5 separate regions of the Homo sapiens genome follow, and all the other regions are linked to region 5. The links are contacts of gene promoters, found by promoter capture Hi-C in blood cells and fetal thymus (Javierre and others, 2016). All regions are on one chromosome and are shown on one strand. The core of a region is centred on a gene start or on the middle of the fragment in contact, and the rest is flanking DNA. Distances in the headings are between cores, read along the strand shown.

Evidence for each region. The method cuts DNA at HindIII sites, captures the fragments that hold promoters and counts their contacts. A CHiCAGO score of 5 or more calls a contact.
Region 1: a fragment that was not itself captured here is called in contact with the fragment with the promoter of ZNF689 in region 5 in 16 of 17 cell types (M2 macrophages, fetal thymus, erythroblasts and 13 more); the score reaches 15.4 in M2 macrophages.
Region 2: a fragment that was not itself captured here is called in contact with the fragment with the promoter of ZNF689 in region 5 in 3 of 17 cell types (M2 macrophages, non-activated CD4 T cells and erythroblasts); the score reaches 11.3 in M2 macrophages.
Region 3: a fragment that was not itself captured here is called in contact with the fragment with the promoter of ZNF689 in region 5 in 3 of 17 cell types (erythroblasts, M1 macrophages and M2 macrophages); the score reaches 6.3 in erythroblasts.
Region 4: a contact is called between a fragment that was not itself captured here and the fragment with the promoter of ZNF689 in region 5, in 16 of 17 cell types (erythroblasts, M2 macrophages, endothelial precursors and 13 more). The highest score is 15.5, in erythroblasts.

What each region holds. Positions count from the first base shown.
Region 1 is chr16:30,415,324-30,418,023 of GRCh38, reverse strand. It overlaps ZNF771 (zinc finger protein 771), which reads right to left. Exons shown (of 3, transcript NM_001142305.2): 3 at 1-469. Among named protein-coding and RNA genes, the nearest start is that of SNORA80C, 3.1 kb to the left of the region's middle. RefSeq lists silencers at 1-2, 33-112, 393-482. The HindIII fragment of the contact is 4,394 bases long and covers 1-2,700 here.
Region 2 is chr16:30,364,408-30,367,107 of GRCh38, reverse strand. It overlaps TBC1D10B (TBC1 domain family member 10B), which reads left to right. Exons shown (of 9, transcript NM_015527.4): 2 at 1,514-1,613; 3 at 1,896-2,003; 4 at 2,102-2,208. Among named protein-coding and RNA genes, the nearest start is that of TBC1D10B, 4.7 kb to the left of the region's middle. The HindIII fragment of the contact is 2,248 bases long and covers 327-2,574 here.
Region 3 is chr16:30,477,865-30,480,564 of GRCh38, reverse strand. It overlaps ITGAL (integrin subunit alpha L), which reads right to left. Exons shown (of 31, transcript NM_002209.3): 5 at 1,357-1,474; 6 at 1,104-1,234. Among named protein-coding and RNA genes, the nearest start is that of ITGAL, 6.5 kb to the right of the region's middle. The HindIII fragment of the contact is 985 bases long and covers 949-1,933 here.
Region 4 is chr16:30,439,759-30,442,458 of GRCh38, reverse strand. No RefSeq gene overlaps it. Among named protein-coding and RNA genes, the nearest start is that of SEPHS2, 4.8 kb to the left of the region's middle. RefSeq lists an enhancer at 1-131. The HindIII fragment of the contact is 1,916 bases long and covers 374-2,289 here.
Region 5 is chr16:30,609,092-30,611,791 of GRCh38, reverse strand. It overlaps ZNF689 (zinc finger protein 689), which reads left to right and starts at 1,403. Exons shown (of 3, transcript NM_138447.3): 1 at 1,403-1,955; 2 at 2,154-2,267. The coding sequence starts at 1,751. LOC124903678 (a long non-coding RNA gene) reads right to left here and starts at 1,318. Exons shown (of 2, transcript XR_007065051.1): 1 at 1,029-1,318. RefSeq lists an enhancer at 407-1,376 and a silencer at 1,664-1,713. The HindIII fragment of the contact is 6,999 bases long and covers 1-2,700 here.

The sequences.
Region 1 (2,700 bases), core at 29-2,528, 190 kb after region 5:
CGTAGGGCCGCTCGCCCGTGTGCGTGCGTCGGTGGCGCGCCAGGCACGAGCTGCCGCCAAAGGCGCGTCCGCAGTCCGGGCACGCGTACGGCTTCTCGCCCGTGTGCACGCGCAGGTGCTGTGCGTAGTTGGAGCTCTGCGCGAAGCGGCGGCCGCAGTGCGCGCATGCGTACGGCTTCTCGCCCGTGTGCCGCCGCCGGTGCTGCCGCAGGTTCGAGGCGGCCGAGAAGCGTTTGTCGCACTCGGGGCACTCGTAGGGCCGCTCGCCCGTGTGCGTGCGGCCGTGTTTGGTCAGCGCCGACTTCTGTGAGAAGCGCCGCCCGCACTCGGTGCACCCGAAGGGCCGTTCGCCCGTGTGCGTGCGCGCGTGCTTCGCCAGCGTGGAGCGGCGCGCGAAGGCGCGGCCGCAGTCGGGGCACGCGTGGGGACGCGCCGGGTCGGCGGACGGCGCGGGCGCCTCGCCCGGGACCTGCGGGGAGAGGGGGATAGGTCAGCCCTTAGCGGCAGGCCCCGGAGCCAGAGACCTGGGTCTCCACAGGCTGCTCCCTCTGTGAGCCTCAGTTCCCCATCTATGAAATAGGAAAGGCCACGGTGCTGCCTCCCAGGATGGCTGTGCGCATCCAGTGAGATAATGCGCGTAACGCACACATCACAAAGCCCAGTGGCGTTCTAGCTATTTTTATTAATTCAACCAATATTTACTGAGGGCATGCAGTGTCCTAGACTGTTCTAGGCACGGGGATTCCGCATTAAATAAAAAGCATTAAAAAATTCCTGCTTTCAGAAATAATGGATAAGGAATGCTGGTATTGGGGATGCTACAGATTTAAACAGGGTTGTCAAGACACTTTACCGATATGATAACATGAGCAAAGACTTAAAGGAGGTGACAGAGCAGGCTACGTGGATAGCCCTCTGAGGAGCACTGCAGAGGGAACGGCAGGGCGCAGAGGCGGGAGTTGCCTGCTGTTCCAGAAATGGCAAGAAAAATTGGTTAAAGCAGAATGCATGATGGGGGGAGTCACGGATGTAGTGGTGGAGATCTCTTGGCATATAGGGCCTTGTATTTGTTATATTTGGCTTTTTTTTTTTTTTTTTTTTTTAAGAGACAGGGTCTTGCCGTGGCCCAGGCTTGGTCCCGAACCTCCTGGCTCAAGCAGTCCCTCCTGACTCAGCCTTCTGAGTAGCTGGAGTTACAGGCACATACCACTGTGCCTGGCTCTGGCTTTTATTATAAAGGAGACAGGGACCTGTAAGAGGAGATGTCAGAGGGCTTTGAGCAGGGAAGTGACCATATCCTACACATTTAAAAAGGCTCCCCTCAGGCTACTGGGGTTGAAAACCAAATGAAGGAGTTGGAGAGAGCAGAAGCAGAAGCCCAGTGAGGAGGCCACTACAGCCACCTGGCAAGAGAAGATAGTGGCTCATACCCAGGTGACAGAAGTGGACGGTGGATGGTGGAGGTGGTGAGAAGTGATTGGCTTCTGGATCTATTTGCAGTGTGAGACAATAGATTTAATAAGAGATTAGATATGAGGTGTGAAGAAAAAGAGATCAAAATGACTTCAAGGTTTTTGAGCTTAGCAACTGCAAAGGTGGAGTTGCCATTTACAGAGATGAGGACGGTGGGAGGAGCAAGTTGAGAGGGGAGATCTGTTTTGGATGGTGTCACGGCTTCTTGACATATCTGGAGCTCAGAAGCGAGGCCTAGACTGGAGATGTTAATTGAGAAGCTGTCAACCTATAGATGGTTTATAAAGCCTTGAGAATGAGTGGATGAGATCATCCAGGGGATGGGCAGACAGAACCTAGGGCAGCAAGATGGGGAGAAGCCAGGGAGGGAGGAGAGCAGGAGAGGGGCATCCTGGAAGCCAGGCCAGGACCAAGTCCAGGCTCTTAATCAGCTTTGAATAGCAAACACCTATCATTTTTTAAGCAGTGAAGAAAAAGGCAAGGGTAAAAGCCAAATGTTATTCTGAGGTCTGAAATGAAACAATCTGAAAATGAGCCAGTTTCACAAGCTCTGGCCTTTTAGAGATAAAAATCAGAAAAAGGAAAGAAATGCCTTCTAAGAGGCACATGAAGGGAAAACATTCTGGACTAACAGTGAAGAGTATTGAGGGCATATTGCTCCCTTCCTAGAAAAGAGAACGCTCAAAACCCCAGCAAAACTGATGTCGCGTATCTACTGTGGCCAAGCAATTAATTCATGACCAAATGAAGTGCCTGGGGCATATTAAGGACAAGACAGTGTCAGCTTCTCCCATATTCGATCTCCACGAGGTAATTATCATCATCCCTATTTTACAGATGGGGAGACAGGTGAAGAGAGAGGGACAGCAAGGCCAGGTGCAGTGGCTCACGCCTGTAATACCAGCACTTTGGGAGGCCGAGGCAGGTGGATCACGAGGTCAGGAGTTCAAGCCCAGCCTAGCCAAGATGTTGAAACCCCGTCTCTACTACAAATACAAAAATTAGCTGGGCGTGGTGGCGGACGCCTGTAATCCCAGCTACTCGGGAGGCTGAGGCAGGGAACTGCTTGAACCCGGGAGGTGGAGGTTGCAGTGAGCCAAGATTGCACCACTGCCTCCAGCCTAGGTGACGGCAAGACTCCGTCTCAAAAAAAAAAAAAAAAAAAAAAGGGTGACAGCAGAAAATAGTAGGGCCTTCTGTTTCTGAAGCTGCAGGAGGGCAACTTCA
Region 2 (2,700 bases), core at 201-2,700, 240 kb after region 5:
ATTCTCCTGCCTCAGCCTCCCGAGTATCGGATTGAAGACATGTGCCACCACACCCGGCTGAGTTTGCATTTTTAGTAGAGACAGGGTTTCACCATGTTGGCCAGGCTGGTCTTGAACTCTCGACCTCAGGTGATCCGCTTCTCACTTCTGACACCTCCGCCTCCCAAAGTGCTGGGATTACAGGCATGAGCCACCATGCCCGGCCCGGTGGTGTCTTTTTATAATTGAGGAAGGGACTCAGGTCATCCCTTGACAAAGCTCCCTATTGTCTCAGAGACAGAACTGAAATTTGAACTTAGGTAGGTTTGATTCTTAAGACCCAAGCTTTCTTCCGTTCTACTCACCTCCTAGTACTGGCTCCTACAAGTAAGTGTTTGAAGAATGATGGGGCACCATGAGTATGAACCTCTGACAGAACAGTGAGTAAATAGGGCAGGGAGTCCTTTATTTGCCTGGGGTGATTTCAGGGAGGAGGAGGTAGAGTAAATTGCAGGTGACCCAAGGGATCTTAAACATTTGATAGGACAAAACTCAGATGGTTGCGTCTAAAGAGACAGAAGTACATTTGTTCTGTATTTTATTTTATTATTATTATTTTTTTTTTTGATGGAGTCTCGCTCTGTCATCTGGGCTGGAGTGCAGTGGCACAATCTTGACTCACTGCACCCTCCGCCTCCCGGGTTCAAGCGATTCTCATGCCTCAGCTTCGCGAATAGCTGGGATTTCAAGCACGTGCCACCATGCCTGGCTAATTTTTGTATTTATAGTAGAGACAGGGTTTTACCATGTTGTCCAGGCTGGTCTCAAACTCCTGACCTCAAGTCATCCGCCTGCCTCGGCCTCCCAAAGTGCTGGGATTACAGGTGGGAGCCACCATGCCCGGCCTATTTTATTATTTTATTTTTATTTTTTGTAGAGACAGAATCTCGTTATGTTGCCCAGGCTGGCCTTGAACTCCTGGCCTCAAGTGATCCTCTTGCCTCTGCTTCCCAAAGTGCTGGGATTACAGGCATGAGCTACCATGCCTGGCCCTCTAGGGTATTTTATTTTATGGATAGTAAGGTATTACTTAATGGGCACTTCGCTGTGTGTTATTTCGTATAAACCCCTTCGGGTAGATATTGTTACTTTCTCCACCTTACAGATGAGGAAATTGGGCTTAGCAAAATTAAGTGATTTGCCCAAGGTCACACAATGAATAAATGGTAAAGCTAGGACGTGGATCCAGATCTAATGCAAAATGTGGCTTTAAAATACTCCATACTCTCTCCCCAGATTTGGATGTGTCAGAAGTGAGATTTAAATATGACCTCTGAATAGAGATCCATCAGGGAAGGAAGCCCTTTCAGTGTGCCTTGGGATGCCCAAGTGGCCAGACATCCTGATGTTTGGCAGCTCACAGACTATCCAGTTTCTCGTTTGAGCTTGGGGAGGTGGCTTGCCTCAGTTCCCCCTGCAATGCAGGTTTTACACTATTGCTACTGACCCCTTCCGTGCTCCCCCGACCCTGCAGAGAGAGCTCCATTCCCGTGGACGTGGCTCGGCAGCGGGAGCTCAAATGGCTGGACATGTTCAGTAACTGGGATAAGTGGCTGTCACGGCGATTCCAGAAGGTTTGAGGGCTGAATGGTGGGCAGGGCAATGCACAAGTTGGGAGGGGTAGCATGTGCTCCAGGGAAGCCCAGGAAGCCGATAATATCTGCCCTCTGGACCACACTGGGGATAGATGGGCCCTGGCGGGGGAATGGCTTTAAAAATAGAAGTCCAGGCCAGGTCCAGTGGAATCAAGCCTATGGGATGTCGGAGGAGTATCCAGGGAGTTTGTGGACTGCTGGGGAAAGGTTGGAGGCTGTGCCAGCCCTTGAAGCTGTCCCCCTCCTGCCACTTTGCCTTAGGTGAAGCTGCGCTGCCGGAAGGGGATCCCCTCCTCTCTCAGAGCCAAAGCCTGGCAGTACCTGTCTAATAGCAAGGAACTTCTGGAGCAGAACCCAGGAAAGTTTGAGGTGCGTGCAGCTCCAAGGTGTGGGGACATGTGGCCCTGTCTGTGCAAGGGGTATCAGTTCCCCCAGATGCTGAGGTAATCCCCACTGTCCCACTGCAGGAGCTGGAACGGGCTCCTGGGGACCCCAAGTGGCTGGATGTGATTGAGAAGGACCTGCACCGCCAGTTCCCTTTCCACGAGATGTTTGCTGCTCGAGGGGGGCATGGGTAAGGTGGCCGGACCATGGGGGTCAGTCAGCAAACATTGGCTGGAGGATCCACCTTTTAGCTAGGTGGATACAAGACTGAGTCGAAAGTGGTTTTTGCCCTTCAGGACTTGTAGAAGAGCTATCTGTAATGGACTAAGTGTCAAGCCATGTCAAAGGAACTGTCCTGGGAAGGAGACTTGACTCAGGTTGTGTGTGGGGGCACGTCATGGGCTCCTTGAAGAGCTTGCATTTGGGCTGGGTTTTGGAGGGGTGGGAGCTACAGCAGTGGGGCAGGGTTTTCCTGCCTGGGGGTTATGGAAAAGATCACCAGGGACCCTTAAATGCTATGCCAAAGCATTTGGAATTTTGTTCTATAGACCAAGCTTCCTCCAGATGTCAGTATATACTCTTCTCTAGTAGTATGCAAGATGATCATCTTAGGGAGTTCTCTGATGGACTTTTTTTTGTTTTGTTTTTTGAGATGGAGTCTCCCTTTGTTGCCCAGGCTGGA
Region 3 (2,700 bases), core at 192-2,691, 130 kb after region 5:
TCTGGGTCCACCTATGTCACTGATAGGGATGGGTTCCAGCAGCCATATTTCTGCTGAGTGACGCTGCTTAACTAGATACAGTTGGCTGGGCCGGGGATCAACACCTGACTGAAGCTACGCCAGCCAGAACCTCTTCTCTGAGAACTGGAAATTTGCAAAGGGAGGTGTTGGTTGAGGGGAAGGTAAAAAACCCTCTTGGAACTTTAACACATGAACTTAGGAGCTTTCCATAGGTCTATGTGGTCTAAAGGCGCTAAGGGAGCCAGTCTACGGAGACTGAGAAAAGAGAAGAAGGAAGCAAAGACGCAAAAAGAAACAGAAATGAGAACTAGCTGGGCACAGTGGCTCATGCCTGTAATCCCAGCACTTTGGGAGGCCAAGGCAGGAGGATCTCTTGAGAGATCCAGGAGTTTGGGACCAGTCTGGGCAACACAATGATAAACCATCTCTACAGAAAATTTAAAAATTAGCCACGCACAGTGGTGCACATGGGTAGTCCCAGCTAGTTGGGAGGATCATTTGAGCCCAGGAGTTTGAGGCTACAGTGAGCTATGATCGTGCCACCATGATTCCAGCCTTGGGGACACAGTGAGACCCTGTCTCAAAAAGAAAAAATGGCTGTGCACGGTGGCTCACGCCTGTAATCCCAGCACTTTGGGAGGCCAAGGTGGGCAGATCACAAGGTCAGGAGTTCAAGACCAGCCTGGCAACATGGTGAAACACCATCTCTACTAAAAATACAAAAATCAGCTGGGTGTAGTGGCAGTTGCCTGTAATACCAGCTACTTGGGAGGCTGAGGCAGGTGACTTGCTTGAACCTGGGAGGCAGTGAGTCGAGATTGTGCCATTGCACTCCAGCCTGGGCAACAAGAGCAAAACTCCATCTCAAAAAAAAAAAAAAAAAAAAAAAAAAAAAGGAAATGAGAACTAGAGAGACTCCTAGAAGCTTTCTACTCCCTGGTTCTTGTCCCTTCCAGAGGCCCAGTTATAGCCATGCCCATAGGCTCTGAGGATTCCACATACTAACATTTCCTTTCATGGTTTAAGTCAGTTCAGGTAGGCATCTATTGCATGCAACCAAGAATCCTAACTAACTTTTTTACCTGGTACGAAGTGTTGCTGAGTTTCTTCATCACATCCTTCATGAAGTCCAGAATTTTCTGAAATTCATCTGGCTGCAAGCTCATCGAACCATCAAACAGAAATACCAGGTCTACGTTGCCCTTGATACATTCTGCAGAAGCCAGACGCAAGGGACCCAGTGAAGCATCTCTGGTGTTTGACCTGCCCATGCTGGTTCTCTCTAGGGACAGCCATTTGGAGGTATTTTTACCCAATGAGTCCCCAGTTCCTTACCCTGAAAACCAGGGCGCCCCTGCAGCATGGGACCCTGCAGATTCTGGCGGAAGAGGTAACACAGGCCACTCAGATAGGTGTTCTGGTCACACGTTCGAGACAGCCCAGGGTCACAGGCCTAAAGAAAGCAAAGGCCAAAGATTTGGGTCTCCTATTTGCTATGTGTCTTTTGGGCAACATCAACCAAAACTAGGAACGTTCAGAGTCCTTGTCCTCTTTCTCACTTCCTCTATCCAACTGGTTACCAAGGCAAGGAATGTCCGCCTCCACAGTCTCTACTGTCCATCCCTCCCATCCTACCAATGCTCTATGCCAATGGATGCTCACCGCCTGTAGGACTGGTGGTGAGTCTGGACTCCTTATCTGGGCTTACACTGGGCACGACCCCACATTTCCAGGTCCATCTTCTCCTAGTCCCAATCTCTTTTTCTGTGTTCCAGCCAAATCAAATTATCAAGATTCCCAGAATATACAGTGCCTCTTTCTTTCTTTCTTTTTTTTTTTTTTTTTTGAGATGGAGTCTTCGCTCTATCGCCTAGGCTGGACTGCATGGCATGATCTCGGCTCACTGCAAGCTTCGCCTCCCGGGTTCACGCCATTCTCCTGCCTCAGCCTTCTGAGTAGCTGGGACTACAGGCACCCGCCACTACACCCGGCTAATTTTTTGTATTTTTAGCAGAGACGGGGTTTCACCGTGTTAGCCAGGATGGTCTTGATCTCCCAACCTCGTGATCTGCCTGCCTCGGCCTCCCAAAGTGCTGGGATTACAGGCATGAGCCACCGCGCCCGGCCATGCCTCTTTCTTTCTTTTTCCCTTCCTCTCCCCTCCCCTCCGCCCCCCACTTTCTTTCTTTTTCTTTCTTTCTTTTTTTTTTTTGACGGAGTCTCGCTTTGTCACCCAGTCTGGAGTGCAGTGGTGCGATCTTGGCTCACTGCAACCTCTGCTTCCCGGGTTCAAGTGATTCTCCTGCCTCAACCTCCTCAGTAGCTGGGACTACAGGTGCCCACCACCACGCCCAGTTAATTTTTGTACTTTTAGTAGAGACGGGGTTTCACCATATTGGCCAGGATGGTCTCAAACTCCTGACCTTGTGTCTGCCCACCTCGGCCTCCCAAAGTGCTGGGATTACAGGAGTGAGCCACTGCACCCAGCCTTTTCTTTCTTTCCTTCCTTCCTTCTCCTTCCTTCCTTCATCTTTCTTTTTCTTCTTCCTTCCTTCCTATCTCTCTCTCCTCCTCTCCCCTTCCTTCCTTCCCTCCCTCCCTCCGTCCTTTCTTTCTTTCCTTTCTTTGCTTTCTTGCTTTCTTTCCTTGCTTTCTTTCTTTTCAGGTCTCACTCCCATC
Region 4 (2,700 bases), core at 82-2,581, 170 kb after region 5:
AAGCCCAAAATCACTCTACCACAAGGCCTCCTAGGTGAAAGCCTTTATTGAATGATGTTAAGCTTTTTTTTTTTTTTTTCCGGACAAAGTCTCACTCTGTTGCCCAGGCTGGAGTGCAGTGGTTCGATCTCAGCTCACTGCAACCTCCGCCTCCCAGGTTCAAGCGATTCTTCTGCCTCAGCCTCCCGAGTAGCTGAGATTACAGGTGTGCACCACCACGCCCGGTGAATTTTGTGTTTTTAGTAGAAAATGTGGTTTCACCATGTTGGCCAGGCTGGTCTCCAACTCCTAACCTGAAGCAATTTACCCGCCTCAGCCTCCTGAAGTGCTGGGATTACAGGCATGAGCCACCGCGCCCAGCTAATGTTAAGCTTTTTAATGCCTCATTCTTAAATATGAGCAGTCAAGGATCACCAAGCATGTGAGGAGAGCCTCCAACTTAAACAGAAAAAGGAAACTCAGAGGGACAATACAGGGAGTAGGAAAAAAGATAAAAAATATCCGCAAAGCAATACTTAAGAGAACCAGCCACTTAGAATATAAAGATAAAGCTAAAACTTGAAATTTTTAATAGGGGGCTGGGTGCAGTGGCTCACATCTGTAATCCCAGCATTTTGGGAGGCCAAGGCGGGCGGATCACCTGAGGTCAGGAGTTCGAGACCAGCCTGGCCAACATGGTGAAACCCCCATCTTTAATAAAAATATAAAAATTAGACAGGCTTGATGGCATGAACCTGTAATCCCAGCTACTCAGGAGGCTGAGGCAGGAAAATCACTTGAACCCAGGAGGCAGAGGATGCAGTGAGCCAAGATCATGCCATTGCACTCCAGCCTGGATGACAAGGCAAAATTCTGTCTCCAAAAAAAAAAAAAAAATTTCTAATAGGAGACATAAAGTTGCAGAAATTTATCAGAAAGTAGCCCCAAAAGGCCAGGCACCTTACTCACACCTGTAATCCCAGCACTTTGGGAGGCCAAGGTGGGCTTGAGCCCATGAGTTCAAGACCAACCTGAGCAACGTGGCGAAAACCTGTCTCTACAAAAAATACAAAAATTAGCAGGCATGGTGGTGTGCACTTGTAGTCCCAGCTTCTCTGGAGGCTGGGGTGGGAGGATCACTTGAGCCTGGGAGATGGAGGCTGTAGTGAGCCAAGATTGCACCACTGCAGTCACCACTGCAGTCCAGCCTGGGTGACACAGTGAGATCCTGTCTCAAAAAATAAATAAGCCGGGCGCGGTGGCTCACGCCTGTAATCCCAGCACTTTGGGAGGCCAAGGCAGGCGGATCACGAGGTCAGGAGATCAAGACCATCCTGGCTAACACGGCGAAACCCCGTCTCTACTAAAAATACAAAAAATTAGCCGGGCGTGGTGGCAGGCACCTGTAGTCCCAGCTACTTGGGAGGCTGAGGCAGGAGAACGGCGTGAACCCGGGAGGTGGAGCTGGCAGTGAGCCAAGACTATGCCACTGCACTCCAGCCTGGGTGACAGAGCGAGACTCTGTCTCAAAAATAAATAAATAAGAAAGTAGACCATGTCGCCATAAAAAAGAATGAGTTCATGTCCTTTGCAGGGACATGGATGAAGCTGGAAGCCATCATTCTCAGCAAACTAACACAGGAACAGAAAACCAAACACTTGCATGTTCTCACTCATAAGTGGGAGTTGAACAAATGAGAACACATGGACACAGGGAGGGGAACATCACACACCAGGGCCCATTGGGGGTTGGGGGCAAAGGGAGGGAGAGCATTAGGACAAACAGCTAAAGCATGCGGGGCTTAAAACCTAGATGACAGGTTGATAGGTGCAGCAAACCACCATAGCACATGTATACCTGTGTAACAGGCCTGCATGTTCTGCACATGTATCCCAGAACGTGAAGTAAAATAAAAAAAAAAAGTAGCCCAAAAAGATGCACAATAAAATAAATTCTATAAAGATCAAATGAGGCAGGAGGTTCAACATCTAAGCGGAGTTCTAGAATAAGGCAGTAAAGCAGATGGAAGAAAAAATATTATCCAAGTTTTCTAGAACTTAAAAGTTGTAAACCACATACCTCTTGAACTCCTAGCACAGTACATTTTAAAAGATCCATGCTAATTTTATTAAATTTCAAAATGCCAGTTATGAAGAAGAGATCCTAATAATAATGAAAGCAAATGTTTATATAGCACATATTCTGTGCAGGAAGTAAGTGCTTTATACGTATTAACCCAATCTTCTAACAACCCCAATTTGCAAATGAGGAAGCTGAGGTATAGGGAGAATAAGAAATTTGTCCAAGCTTGCATAGTCAGTCTTGTAGGCGGTCTGACTCCAGAACCCATGCTTCTGATCACTATGATCACATACAAAGGTGTGGGAATAATGACACACCTTTGTATGTCATCATGACATCAGACTTCACAACCTCAAATTGGAAGCTAAAAAACAATAAAGCAGCCAGGTGCGGTGGCTCACACCTGTAATTCCAGCACTTTGGAAAGCCGAGGCAGGAGGATCACTTGAGCCTAGGAGTTTGTGACCAGCCTGGGCAATACAGTGAGATCCTATTTCTACAAAAAAAATAGAAAATTAAGTTTAGCCAGGCATGGTGGCATGCGCCTGAGGCCGAGGTGCAAGGATTGCTTGAGCAACAGAGTGAGACCCTGTCTCAGAAAAAAAATTTAAAAACAACACACACACAAAAGCAATGCC
Region 5 (2,700 bases), core at 154-2,653:
ACTCATGGAATCCCTCTGAGATCGTTTCTTCATTAGTAGAACCAGGATGATAACCATTGGTTCACAAAATGCTAGTAAAGAATTAATAACGGGCTGGGTGTGGTGGCTCACTCCTGTAATCCCAGCACTTTGGGAGACCGAGGTGGGCGGATTGCTTGAGCTCAGGAGTTCGAGACCAGCCTGGGAAACATGGCGAAACACCGTCTCTACCAAAAATACAAAAAATTAGCAGAGCACTGTGGGTGCATGCCTTCACTCCAGCCTGGGCAACGGAATGAGACCCAGTCTCAAAAAAAAAAAGCGAATAACTAATGGCTCCGGTGCTGTGGCTTATGCCAGTAATCCCAGCCCTTTGGGAGGACGAGGCAGGAGGATCACTTAGCCTAAGGGTTCGAGACCAGCCTGGGCAACACAGGGAAACCCTGACTCAACAAATAACATAAAAAATTAGCCAGGCGTGGTAGTGCACACCAGTAGTCCCAGTTACTCTGAAGGCTGAGGCAGGACGATTGCTTGAGCCCAGGAGTTAGAGGCTGCAGTGAGCTGAGATTGCACTACTGCATTCCATCCCGCCCGGGTAACAGAGTGAGACCCTGTCTCAAAAAAATAAAAATAAGGCCGGGCATAGTGGCTCACGCCTGTAATCCTAGCACTTCGTGGGGCCGAGGTGGGTGAATCACTTGAGGTCAGAAGTTCGAGACCAGCCTGGCTAACATGGTGAAACCCCATCTCTGCTAATAAATATGAATATTAGTCAGGAGTGGTGGCACGCGCCTGTAATCTCACTTACTCGGGAGGCTGAGGCAGGAGAATCGCTTGAACGTGGGAGGTGGAAGCTGCAGTGAGCCGAGATTTCGCCACTGCACTCCAGCCTGGGCGACAGAGCACGACTCTGTCTCAAAAATAAATAAATAAAATAAAAATAAAAAATAATAAAGATGAAATATGTAATATGCTGGGCATGGCGCCTGCCCCCAGGAAATGCTAACCATAATTCCCTCCCCTAAAGGGCAAACAAAGAAGATAACCATTCTCCAAAGTCAAGGATGCTCTGAGAACACCAGTAAAAGGAACTCAGGATAATCTCAGCTCTAACTCGGCCAGAGTGGCTCCATCGCTCAAATCGTTCCCTCCTTCAGTGATTGGCTGAGCCTGCCAGAGTCGAACAGCGGAAAGCAGCCCCGGGGCCTCTTGCTGCCCCCAGGTCGGTGCAAGTCGCTTCACAACTCCTTGTAGTCGCCTGATCCTAGCAGTCCAGCTTCCTGCCCTTATGCAGCTCTTGGCTTCGTTCAAACGGACCGCCTTTGCTAGCACCCAATCAGAACGCTCGATCTTCGGCTCTCGTCCAATGAACGCGCGTATTGGGGAGGGGAAAAAAGACGGCGTGAAGCCCAATCGCAGCGCCATTACACTTGAGGGCAAAGAGGTTAGGAAGCCGGCATGGCGCTCCGGTCAATAAAATCGATAGCTGGAAGCTGCCTGTGTTCCAGGCAAAGGCGGTGCGGTAGCAGCGCCGCCATTTTCCCCGAAGGCATCTTCCGGTGCCTTTCACCCAAGTTCGGGCAGGAGTTTCCTGAATAACAGCAAAAGGTTTCCGTTAGCCCCGCGGGCGACCAATTCCGATTCCCTCCGGGCCTCCCCGGCCACGCTCAGCCCTGGTCCGGCAGGGGCTCCTCGATCCCAGGGGCCGCCAGCGCCCGAGGGCCGAGGCCTGGACACGGAAGGCCGTGGCGCCGGCTTCTCGGGTCCCATGGCGCCACCTTCGGCTCCGCTCCCTGCGCAGGGACCAGGAAAGGCCAGACCCAGTCGGAAAAGGGGCAGGAGGCCGAGGGCTCTGAAGTTCGTGGACGTGGCCGTGTACTTCTCCCCGGAGGAGTGGGGCTGCCTGCGGCCCGCGCAGAGGGCCCTGTACCGGGACGTGATGCGGGAGACCTACGGTCACCTGGGCGCGCTCGGTGAGGCCGGCCCCATCCGCTGCCGCGGGGCGCGAAGGGATGCAGGAGCCGGAGAGGGTGTAGGCAGGGAGGCCACGGTCCTGGCAGGCGACCAGGTTGTCAGGGGAGGTGGGCAGGGGCTTAGCAGGAGGTGCCGTCGGGGAGATACTACTCGGCGTGATCTAGGAGCTGGCCTTCTGATTTGTTCTCTTTCCCCAGGGTGCGCAGGTCCCAAACCAGCCCTCATCTCCTGGTTGGAACGAAACACCGATGACTGGGAACCGGCTGCTCTAGATCCGCAGGAGTACCCGAGAGGGCTAACAGTCCAGAGAAGTGAGTGCTAAATAACCACGCAGAGCCTGCAGCCCTCCTATAACGTTCTACCTCTAACGGCTCTGTCCAGAGTTTTGGTTGGGCTAGGGGTGGGTGCCGCGTATTTAGTATATTCATCTTCCCAGCCTCTTGTGTCTGGTGGTGTGGGGCCGGTCCACCACACAGAGATTCCTATGTCAGTCTGCAAGCTGCAGTTTTCCACTGTGTGAATGAATCAGTGGGCTTATTCTTCGTCTTTTTTTTTTTTTTTTTTTTTTGTAGAAACATTGTCTTGCTCAGTTCGGTCTTGAACTTCTGGCCTCAAGCGATCCTCCTGCCTTGGCCTCCCAAAATGCAGGGGTTACTGGCGTGAGCCATTGCAGCCAGCCAGAATCAGTGAGCTTTTAACAGGTGCTACCCTCTGCCTCCTTTCCAGGATCTCTGCCTCTAGCCA